2 separate regions of the Homo sapiens genome follow, and region 1 is linked to region 2. The links are contacts of gene promoters, found by promoter capture Hi-C in human tissues and cell types (Jung and others, 2019). All regions are on one chromosome and are shown on one strand. Each heading gives the region's core, a stretch centred on a gene start or on the middle of the fragment in contact. The rest is flanking DNA. Distances are from core to core; before and after follow the strand shown. Region 1 overlaps SCAMP2 (secretory carrier membrane protein 2). Region 2 holds the start of LMAN1L (lectin, mannose binding 1 like).

The links. Contacts are between HindIII fragments. The study calls those that stand out against the background at their distance.
Region 1: a fragment that was not itself captured here is called in contact with the fragment with the promoter of LMAN1L in region 2 in 2 of the 25 tissues and cell types used here (neural progenitor cells and small bowel).

The regions. Positions count from the first base shown.
Region 1 is chr15:74,853,200-74,858,492 of GRCh38, reverse strand. It overlaps SCAMP2 (secretory carrier membrane protein 2), which reads left to right. Exons shown (of 9, transcript NM_005697.5): 2 at 3,844-3,912; 3 at 4,374-4,472. Among named protein-coding and RNA genes, the nearest start is that of ULK3, 13 kb to the right of the region's middle. RefSeq lists enhancers at 391-460, 691-740, 1,091-1,150, 1,181-1,290, 2,037-2,106. The HindIII fragment of the contact is 4,540 bases long and covers 1,047-5,293 here.
Region 2 is chr15:74,809,645-74,814,599 of GRCh38, reverse strand. LMAN1L (lectin, mannose binding 1 like) reads right to left here and starts at 1,765. Exons shown (of 14, transcript NM_021819.3): 1 at 1,571-1,765. The coding sequence starts at 1,745. The HindIII fragment of the contact is 6,905 bases long and covers 1-3,874 here.

The DNA of each region.
Region 1 (5,293 bases), core at 2,067-4,566, 42 kb before region 2:
GTTAAATGAGGAGCTGTATTGTAGCTTTTCTCAGCCAGGGTCCCGAGCTGAGCCACAGAACAGAGAAGCTGATTGGAGTGACTCTCTCAGCTCTCTCAAGTATGGAGTATAACTAGTACCACCCTAGGTACCAGGAGAGCAGTAAAGTCATTATAAATAGTGGATTAGGGGGTCATAAGTCTTTTGAAGAACCAGGTCAAGGAAGGCCAGTAAAACCCTCTTTTCTGACAACTCGACACAGTGGCTAGTTCTGGGGTGACTAGAATTTCACAGTAGCATCATTGTGTGGTGAGTTTGGCACACCGTAGACACTAAGTAAATGTCAGCTTCCTTCCCCAGTCCCTCCTCCTCCCTCCCTTTCTTGCCAGGGCTCAGCTTGTCTTGAAGCCACGCACATCTTTCAGAAAGAGCCTAGGTTTTCTTAGATGGGAAAATATCCACTTGTCTCAGCGTTTTAGGTTGCTCTTCCTAGGCAACGTGCTTCCAGGCCCTTGGGCTACTGCTGTGATGCAGGTGCCTCCTGTTTGCTATGCCCTGGCACTTGGGCAGTGCTTTCTAAAAAGAGGGAGGCCCTACAGCGTGCTGCGTGTCTTCTCAAACCGCTGAGCTGCTGTGCTGCCATAGGCCCTTCACCAAGCACCAAGGAACTAGAATATGAACCAGACACAGATGCACATGGCTGCAGGGAGCTTCTAACTTAATCATGGAGATCAGATTTGTTTATGAGGAGCCCGGTGAGGAGTCCAAGGCCATGTCTTTAAGATTTTAGGAAAAAGGGAGGGATCAGAGTGGACAGGGCAGTCACCCTATGATCCCCATCACAGTCCCCTTCTGTCTGCCATTCATAAAGGAAATGGCATCTCTTTGTGGGCCTGGAGATCACCTATTAAACATGTGCACCTTGGCCAGATGTCTGTTTGCCATTACCTGAAACTGCTACCAGAGTGGCCCCTCTTCCTCTGTCCTCTGGTGACTCAGACTCGAGGAGCCACTTCTGTGGATGGTAGATCCGATTTCAGTGACTTCAGCGGTGGCTAGGTGTCTGCTGAGTCTGAGAGGGGAACAGATACCAAGCCCCAAATCTTCCTTGCAGGAAGCCAGATGATTCTGGTAGTAAACCACTGGTCATTCAGGCATGAAATAACCTCAAGGCCAATTCTTCAGCAACACAGAGCCTCCTGAACTTCACCTTGTCACTTTGTCCAAGTTGCAGGAGCCATCAGGGCAGAGGTGGTGTTCAGCAGGAAGAACATAGCCACAGTCTGTCGCAGAGGAGGTTGGAAGGGGTGGAGGCTGTAGTATGAGGCCCGTCCAGACACAGTGAGTTCTGGCTGTATGCCTGGAGGCAGTCAGACATTCATACCCTCTATGAACTGGTGGCTCAGGTGGGAAGATAAGAGATAAGAGGAAGTATCTGTGATAAAACCAGAGAACATATTCAATGCTGACCCTCAGCTCTATAAATATTCAGAGTAAGGAGAGAGCTCCCATTTTGGGTCCTAGGATCATGGTGAATATCAGTTTCTACATCTGTAAACTGAGGGGGTCACTCTGTGGCTATGTCTAATATTAGCATTGTATTTAACAATTGGATCTGGACAGGGCAAGGTGGCTCACATTTGTAATCCTAGTGCTTTGGGAGCCCAGGGTGGGAGGACCACTTGAGCTTAGGACTTCAAAACCAGCCTGGGCAACAAAGCAAGACCCCATCTCTACAAAAAAACTTTAAAAATCAGCCAGGCCTGGTGGCTCATGTGTGTAGTCCTGGTTACTCCGGAGGCTGAGGTGGGAGGAATGCTTGAGCCCAGGAGTTTGAGGCTACCATGAGCTATGATTGCACCACTGTACTCCAGCCTGGGCAACAGAGTGAGACCCTGTCTCTAAAAAAGAAAAAGGAAAAAAAAAAAAAAGAACTGGAGGCCAGGTGCAGTGGCTCACATCTGTAATCCCAGTACTTTGGGAGGCTGAGGTGAGCGGATCACCTGAGGCCAGGAGTTCAAGACCAGCTTGCCCAACATGGTGAAACCCCATCTCTACTAAAAATATAAAAATTAGCTAGGTGTGGTGGCAGGCGCCTGTAATCCCAGCTACTCAGGAGGCTGAGGCACGAGAATAGCTTGAGCCCAGAAGGCGGAGGCTGCAGTGAGTGGAGATCATGCCACTGCACTTCAGCCTGGGTGACAGAGCGTGACTCTGTCTTAAAAAAAAAAAAAAAAAAAAAAAAAAAAGAACTGGCTCTGCAGAGGCTTCCAGTGGAGGTGAGGCTGGGCCTGAAGTTTGGGAGCATCTGGTTTAATAATTAGGGGTGTGGGGTGAGGTGTGGAACCCAAGCGGTGTCTCCACAGGCAGGAACAGCCCTGAATTTGGCCACCCTCAGGGCTGTTCCTCATGGAGCCCAGGCATGGCTGTGAAGCTGGACCTGAGCCCTGCATCTGTTACTAGGAAGGGGAGGGTGTGGAGGAGCTCTTCTTGGGGCAGGGCAGGGTGAAGACAACTGTTCCAGGCCAGCAGGGGCACAGTAAAGAGGATGGCAGAGCCCCATGCAGAGATCAGATGGGAAAGGGAGACAAGGTTGTGTTCTGAGGACATTCTTGGATTTTATGAAAAGACTTTAAAAAACCCCCGAAACCCAGAAACATTTTCTTGAATTTTCACCTCAGCTCATCATATCTCTGCTCTTAGCAAGTGTGCCCGATTTAATAAAATCAGTACTGGCAGCCAGCAGCATGTTTTTGTTCTAGAAACTTAGACTACTTTTTTTTTTTTTTTTTTTTTTGAGATGGAGTTTTGCTCTTGTTGCCCAGGCTGGAGAGCAATGGCACAATCTGGGCTCACTGCAACCTCTGCCTCCCGGGTTCAAGTGATTCTCCTGCCTCAGTCTCCGGAGTAGCTGGGATTACAGGCATGCGCCACCACACCTGGCTAATTTTATATTTTTAGTAGAGACGGGGTTTCTCCATGTTGGTCAGGCTGGTCTTGAGCTCCCGACCTCAGGTGATCCACCCGCCTCAGCCTCCCAAAGTGCTGGGATTACAGGCATGAGCTACTGCACCCGGCTACCTTAGACTGTCTTTTACAAAATAAGAGGAATGGCCAGGCATGGTGGCTCACGCCTGTAATCCCAGCACTTCGGGAGGCCGAGACAGGCAGATCACGAGGTCAAGAGATTGAGACCATCCTGGCCAACATGGTGAAACCCTGTCTCTACTAAAAATACAAAAATTAGCCGGGTATGGTGGCGGCCGCCTGTAGTCCCAGCTACTCAGGAGGCTGAGGCAGGAGAATCGCTTCAACCCAGGAGGCGAAGGTTGCAGTGAGCCAAGATTGCGCCACTGCACTCCAGCCTGGGTGACAGAGCAAGACTCTGTCTCGAAAAAATAAAAAAATATAAAAAAAGAGGAATAAATGAATAATAAGTAAAACAGTACAGAAAGGTTATAAAGTCAATAGTAAGTCTCTACCCTCACCACCCCATTCACTTGCCCCTCAGCACCCCACCCCTCAAAAAAAAAAAAAAACCCACTCCCTAGAGGTAAATACTATGAACCATTTTGAATCTGTATAGGGCACCAACAGGAGCCTGTGTGGTGTGTACTCTCAAGCTTCTGGGTAAAGCTTGCTCTGGGTCTCTTCTGGGCTGAACCTTTTCCAGGAAGGGGGAAGGGAGAAGGGACCGCAGCTGTGGTGTGGCAGAGGCAGGCACAGGACCCTTCCAGAGAGGCTTCTCAGGGTCCCGGGAGGGTGATCAGCTGCCCTGCTTCAGTCAGGCGTCACCGGCTCGCCTGCCGGCCCCTGGCCCGGATTTTCTCCACTGTGTCTAAGGGCTTTTTTTCACCTTCTCAGGATCCCTCTGTGACCCAGCTGACCAACGCCCCGCAGGGCGGCCTGGCGGAATTCAACCCCTTCTCAGAGGTTGGTGAGCAGGCCCTCTTTCCAAGTCCCATGGCCCTCTAGGGTGGTGCTGGGGTGTCCGGGGCAGGGATCCTTGGCAAGGACAGAAGCAGCTCTGAGAAGCGGCAGTCCTCAAAGGGACAGTCCTAACATGAACCCGGGAGGCAGGGTAAGGATGGCAAAGCCACCAAACGCTCTGTAAAATTCTCCCCTTGGGATCTGTGACCGGGGCCCCTCCCCAAGGAGGTCAGGGCAGTGCCCAAGTGTGCTGGACCCAGCGAGCCCAGGGGTGCCGGGTTAGGGATCAGATGGCCTGAACCTGAGGCTTGTTGGCTGGGAAGCCACAGGGGAAGGCCCAGTGCAGGCCCCGAGGGAGTCCCCTCACAGGCAGGGGCACATCACTCATCCTGCTGTGGGTTTGCCCCCTCGTCACCAGCTAATGGAGTCCCACTCAATTCTGTCTTTTGATTTGTTCCATGTAGACAAATGCAGCGACAACAGTTCCTGTCACCCAACTCCCTGGGTCCTCACAGCCAGCGGTTCTCCAGCCATCAGTGGAACCAACCCAGCCGACCCCCCAGGTAGTGCTGACAAAGAACTCTGGCCTTTTCTCTCCAGTGAGGGAATCATCCAGACCAGTAGCTGAGCCCTGAGGCTGGGGGCAAGCAGAGAGCTTTCAGCCTTGGCCCCCTAAGGGCCCTCTTGCTAATTTGTTCGGAGCTGGTCACCTACAAGTAGAGGGGCTGCTCTGCCAATTAATATCCTTACTCCCTCCATCCCACCCACCACCACCACTGAGAAATAAGCTCTACTCACCAGGCCGGGCTCCTCGGTGCCTCCAGAGAGGGCATTTGTCCCTGTTGTACCCCTCCAGGTCCTCCTCGGGCCTTTGGCTTGTTCTCTCTTCCTTGGGGCCCAGAATCTCTCTCTTTTTTTTAACTTCATTAATTCTCACCTTCCTTCCTGTCTTCCTTTGTCCCTTCACCAAATACTGTGAATCTTGCCTGCTTTGTGCCTGGTGCTCCACTGCGCCGCCTCACTGCCCTCCCGCTGCACCCCTCGCTGCCCCTATGAGCGTGACCCATGGTGGAGTTGTGTGTTGCAGCTCCTGCTTAGACAGGCCAGCAAGTTCCCGCCTGCCCAATTCCTGGCAGTGAGCGAGCTCTCAGAGAGGCAGATGCTCCTAGGAGGAGAAAGTATTCTCAGAGACAGCTACATGCGAAAGCTTCCGAAGGTAGGCCTAATGTAGATGAGCAGGAGGAAGGGCAGGGCACCCGGAGCCTGCCCCACACCCCTCCCAGGCCCCAGAGCCCTGTGGAGGTGAGGCAGGCCTTACATGCGGAGTTGCCTTTCTGTGCAGCTGGGTGGTGGGCTGTAGGGAGCTGGGTCCTTCTCAGCTGGC
Region 2 (4,955 bases), core at 516-3,015:
AGATCGAAACCATCCTGGCTAACAAGGTGAAACCCCATCTCTACTAAAAGTACAAAAAATTAGCTGGGGGTGGTGGCAGGCACCTGTAGTCCCAGCTACTCGGGAGACTGAGGCAGGAGAATGGCATGAACCCAGGAGGTGGAGCTTGCAGTGAGCCGAGATCACGCCACTGCACTCCAGCCTGGGCAACAGAACGAGACTCCGTCTCAAAAAAAAAAAAACAAAAACAAAAACAAAAATTAGCTGCGTGTGGTGGCACACACCTGTAATCCCAGCTACTCAGGAGGCTGAGGCAGGAGAATCACTTGAATCTGGGAGGTGAAGGTTGCAGTGAGCCAAGATCACACCACTGCACTCCAGCCTGGGCAACAAGAGTGAAACTCCATCTCACAAAAAAAAAAGGGATATTTTGTCCTGGCTTTAGTTAGGAATCGTGCCATTTCTCAGAACTCACATCTTTTTTTTTTTTTTTTTTGAGCCAGAGTCTGGCTCTGTGCCCAGGCTGAAGTGCAATGGCAGGATCTCAGCTCACTGCAACCTTGGCCTCCCAGGTTCAAGCAATTCTCCTGCCTCAGCCTCCTGAGGAGCTGGGACTACAGGCGCACGCCACCACACCCAGCTAATTTTTGTATTTTTAGTAGAGTCAGGGTTTCACCATTTTGGCCAGGATGGTTTTCAACCTCTTGACCTCGTGATTCATCCGCCTTGGCCTCCCAAAGTGCTGGGATTACAGGCGTGAGCCACTGCACCTGGCCAAGAACTCACATTTTATAGACAGAAATCCACAGCCGATCTGCTTTCTGTCTTTGCTTTGCCTGCTAAGAGGCTCAGAATTAAATCCATGGCCCAACTCTCAGGTGGACAGACCTCACAGCATATGTTTTGGAAGCCATGCTCCTAGACTATTTCACGCTCCACTCTAATCCTCATTGTTCTTGCTCACTCCCTCTATCGTGTAGTTCCATCATCACAAACCCTTTTTTGAACAAGATCTGGTAGAAGACACACTCTTTGTAGGTCTGGGTTTGGAAGTCCCTGAATACAAACCTATGGGCTAAGATGCTCTCATGCCTGCTTCCACCCACAACACACATACAGGGAAGGGCTGGTGCCCACTCACCTGGGATGAGGATGCTTCCCTCCAGGTAGCCCCCAGTTCTCATGGCCAGCCACAGGCCCGCTGGGATGGAGCCGGGAGAGTGGAGGTTTGTGCTGGTCCACATTGCCTTCTGTGTGCCTGGGACTTAGTGTGTGAGCATGTGTCTGTGTGTTCACAGGTCAGAGGTAGAGGAAGGGCAGGGGTCCAAGGAGAGGCAGAGGAGAAGAGAGAAGTCCTGGGGCAGGGAAGCAGAGAGGCAGAGGAGAAACAGCTTGGGCAGGGGTGGGGGGTGTTGAGGCGGTGGAGCAGGAGACAAGCCTGGAAGGGGTCCTGGGGTGCCTGGCACTGTCCCAGGCCTTGCCCCACCCTGGACAGAGGATGGCTGTGACAGACCCACTCCCCACCAAGTCACAGCCCCTCCAGCACTTTGAGGGACCCTGGGCATAGCTGGTCCCCACCCCTGCCCCTCACCTCCATGATGGCTCCAGAAGGGTATTCCAGCCCCAGGCAATGCCAGCCTTGGGCCTTTGAAGCTGAGCTTGTACTCAAACCTGCGTAGAGGAGGACACCCCGTCTCAGGGCTGTGGGGGTCCAGGAGCAGGAGGAGAAGGCAGAATAAGGGACCTGGACCACTGACCGCCGGCATCGTGAAGGCGCCTGAAGTCTGGGCCCCGGGGTAGATCATAGCTGGGAGGCCGGGGAGGGGATCCTGGGATAGGGCCAGGCAGGGAGGAGCTGGGGACTGGCCAGGAGCTGGGTTTTGGCACTGTCCTCTCCCTCTATCTCCAGCATAGACATCCTGTTCCTTCCAGGCCTGCTGTCAGGCCCCGCCCATCCCTCACCTCCAGTCTGACGTGGGCAGCGGGACCCCACGACAACCTGAGCTCTGCCCCTGCTCCTGACTCAGGCCATCTTTCTGTCTCCCATCACTTCCAGCAGTTGGATGCGGCAGAGGGGAAGGGGGGGTGCCCAGGGTTGGCCCCCACCCTTCAGCAGCCCTGGCCTCCCCTCCCAGTTAGGGAGACAGGCCTCCACATTCTGCCTGTGTCCCCCAGCATGGATGGCACATCTATCTGGACACCCATCCTTCTCTCCTCCCTGCCCCCTCTCTCCCTCTCCCGAATTCCCCCAGGCTCATCCTTCCAAGCAGCCTGGTTTCCTCAACAAAAGCATTACATGGAAAAAAGAAGGGAGTCTTTAGAGACAGCACAAAAACGCAACGTGCAGACCTTGTTTGGAGCCAAATTTTAACCCAACTGCAAAAAAAAAAAAAGATATTGGGGAAATTTGAACAATGGATATTTTTGAACAATGGATATTTGACTATATTGAGGAATTGTTAAAAATTTTAGGGCACTGTGGCTCATGTCTGTAATCTTAGCACTTTGGGAGCCCAAGGCAGGTGGATCACCTGAGGTCAGGAGTTCGAGACCAGCCTGGCCAACATTGTGAAACTCTGTCTCTACTAAAAAAAAATACAAAAAATTAGCCAGGCCTGGTGGTGCATGCCTGTAATCCCAGCTACTTGGGAGGCTGAGGCAGGAGAATCACTTGAACCTGGGAGGCAGAGATTGTAGTGAGCGGAGATTGCACCATTGCACTCCAGCCTGGGTGATAAGAGCAAAAATCCATTTCGAAAAAAAAAATTGAGAACTAATATGGTATTGTGGTTATGTTTTTTATTTTTTATTTTATTTTATTTATTTATTTTTTGAGACGGAGTCTCGCTCTATCGCCCGGGCTGGAGTGCAGTGGCGCGATCTTGGCTCACTGCAAGCTCTGCCTCCCGGGTTCACACCATTCTTCTGCCTCAGCCTCCCAAGTAGCTGGGACTACAGGTGCCCGCCACCATGCCTGGCTAATTTTTTGTATTTTTTAGTAGAGATGGGATTTCACCGTGTTAACCAGGGTGGTCTCGATCTTCTGACCTCGTGATCCGCCTGACTTGGCCTCCCAAAGTGTTGGGATTACAGGCGTGAGCCACTGCGCCTGGCCTTTTTTTTTTTTTTTGAGAGGTGGTGTCTTCCTATGTTACCAAGGATGGACTCAAACTTCTGGGCTCAAAGGATCCTCCTGCCTCCTGAATAGCTGGAAATAAAGGCATGAGCCACCACGCCTGGCTTGTGGTTATGTTTTTAAAGTGTCTTTTGGAGAAACATACAAAAGCTTTACAGATGAATTGCTGTAACATCGGGGATTTGCTTCAAAATATTCCAGGGCTTGTTGGTGAGCAGGTGGGGTAGAGATGAGACAGAATTGACCTTGAGTTGGTAAGTGCTGAAGCTGGATGGCGGGATGCAGGGGTTCCTTATATCTTCTACTTTTATTATTTTTTGAAACAGGGTCTCACTGTCACCCAGACTGAAGTGCAATGGCAGGATTGTAGAGGAGCTGGGACTACAGGCACACACTACCGTGCCTTGCTAGCTAATTTTTTTTTTTTTTTTTTTTTGAGACGAAGTCTCACTCTGTCACCCAGGCTGGAGTGCAGTGGCGGGATCTCGGTTGACTGCAACCTCCTCCTCTCAGGTTCAAGCGATTCTCCTGCCTCAGCCTCCTGAGTAGCTGGGATTACAGGCACCCACCAACCCACCACCATGCCCGGCTAATTTTTGTATTTTTTTTTTTTTTTTTTGAGATGGAGTCTCCCTCTGTTGCCCAGGCTGGAGTGCAGTGGCACAGTCTCCGCTCACTGCAAGCTCTGCCCCCACCGGGTTCATGCCATTCTCCTGCCTCAGCCTCCAGAGTAGCCGGGACTACTAGGCGCCTGCCACCACGCCCAGCTAATTTTTTTGTATTTTTAGTAGAGACAGCATTTCACAGTGTTTGCCAGGTTGGTCTTGATCTCCTGACCTCGTGATCCACCCGCCTCAGCCACCCAAAGTGCTGGGATTACAGGTGTGAGCCACCGCGCCTGGCCAATTTTTGTATTTTTAGTAGAGACAGGGTTTCACCATTTTGGATCAGGCTGGTCTCGAACTCCTCACCTCAGGTGATCCGTCCACCTCAGCCTCTCAAAGTGCTGGGATTACAGGCATGAGCCACAGCGCCCAGCCCCCAGCTAATTTTTTAATTTTTATTTTTGTAGAGATGGGGGTCTTGTTTTGTTGCCCAGGCTGGTCTTGAACCCCTGGCTTCAAGTGATCCTTCTGCCTTGGCTTCCCAAAGTGCTGGGATTACAGGTGTGAGCCACAACACTGGCCTATTTTTATATATTTGAAAATTTTCATTAAAAATTTTTTTTAGAAAGAAAGAAATCCTATATTTCAAATATTTTCATCCAAATAAAAGTTGGTTTTCCAGAATGACTCATTTGCCAAGAATCCTGGATAGCTGAAATTTTACTGTGCTTTGGAGGTTCCCAATAGGAGTCAGTGACTGAAGCTTTACAAATGGATTAAAATCAAAGTTGTACATGTGAAATGTTAGAACATGCTATGAGAAATCATTTCACAGGCCAGGTGCAGTGGCTTACACCTGTAATCCCAGCACTTCGGGAGGCCGAGGTAGGCGGATCACCTGAGGTTGGGAGTTCAAGACCAGCCTGACCAACATGGTGAAACCCCATCTCTACTAAAAATACAAAATTAGCCAGGCGTGTAATCTGAGCTACTCAAGAGGCTGAGGCAGGAGAATCGCTTGAACCCAGGAGGCAGAGGTTGCAGTGAGCCAAGATCGCGCCATTGCACTCCAGCCTGGGCGACAAGAGTGAATCTCTGTCTCAAAAAAAAAAAAAAAAAAGCATTTTGCAACACCAAGCCCTCACCTGCCTCCATCTGCTCCTCCTCCCTTCACAGCCACACTGGTGGACAGGTTGTCCATTCTGTCCCCGCCTCCTCACTGGATCCTCAAGCCC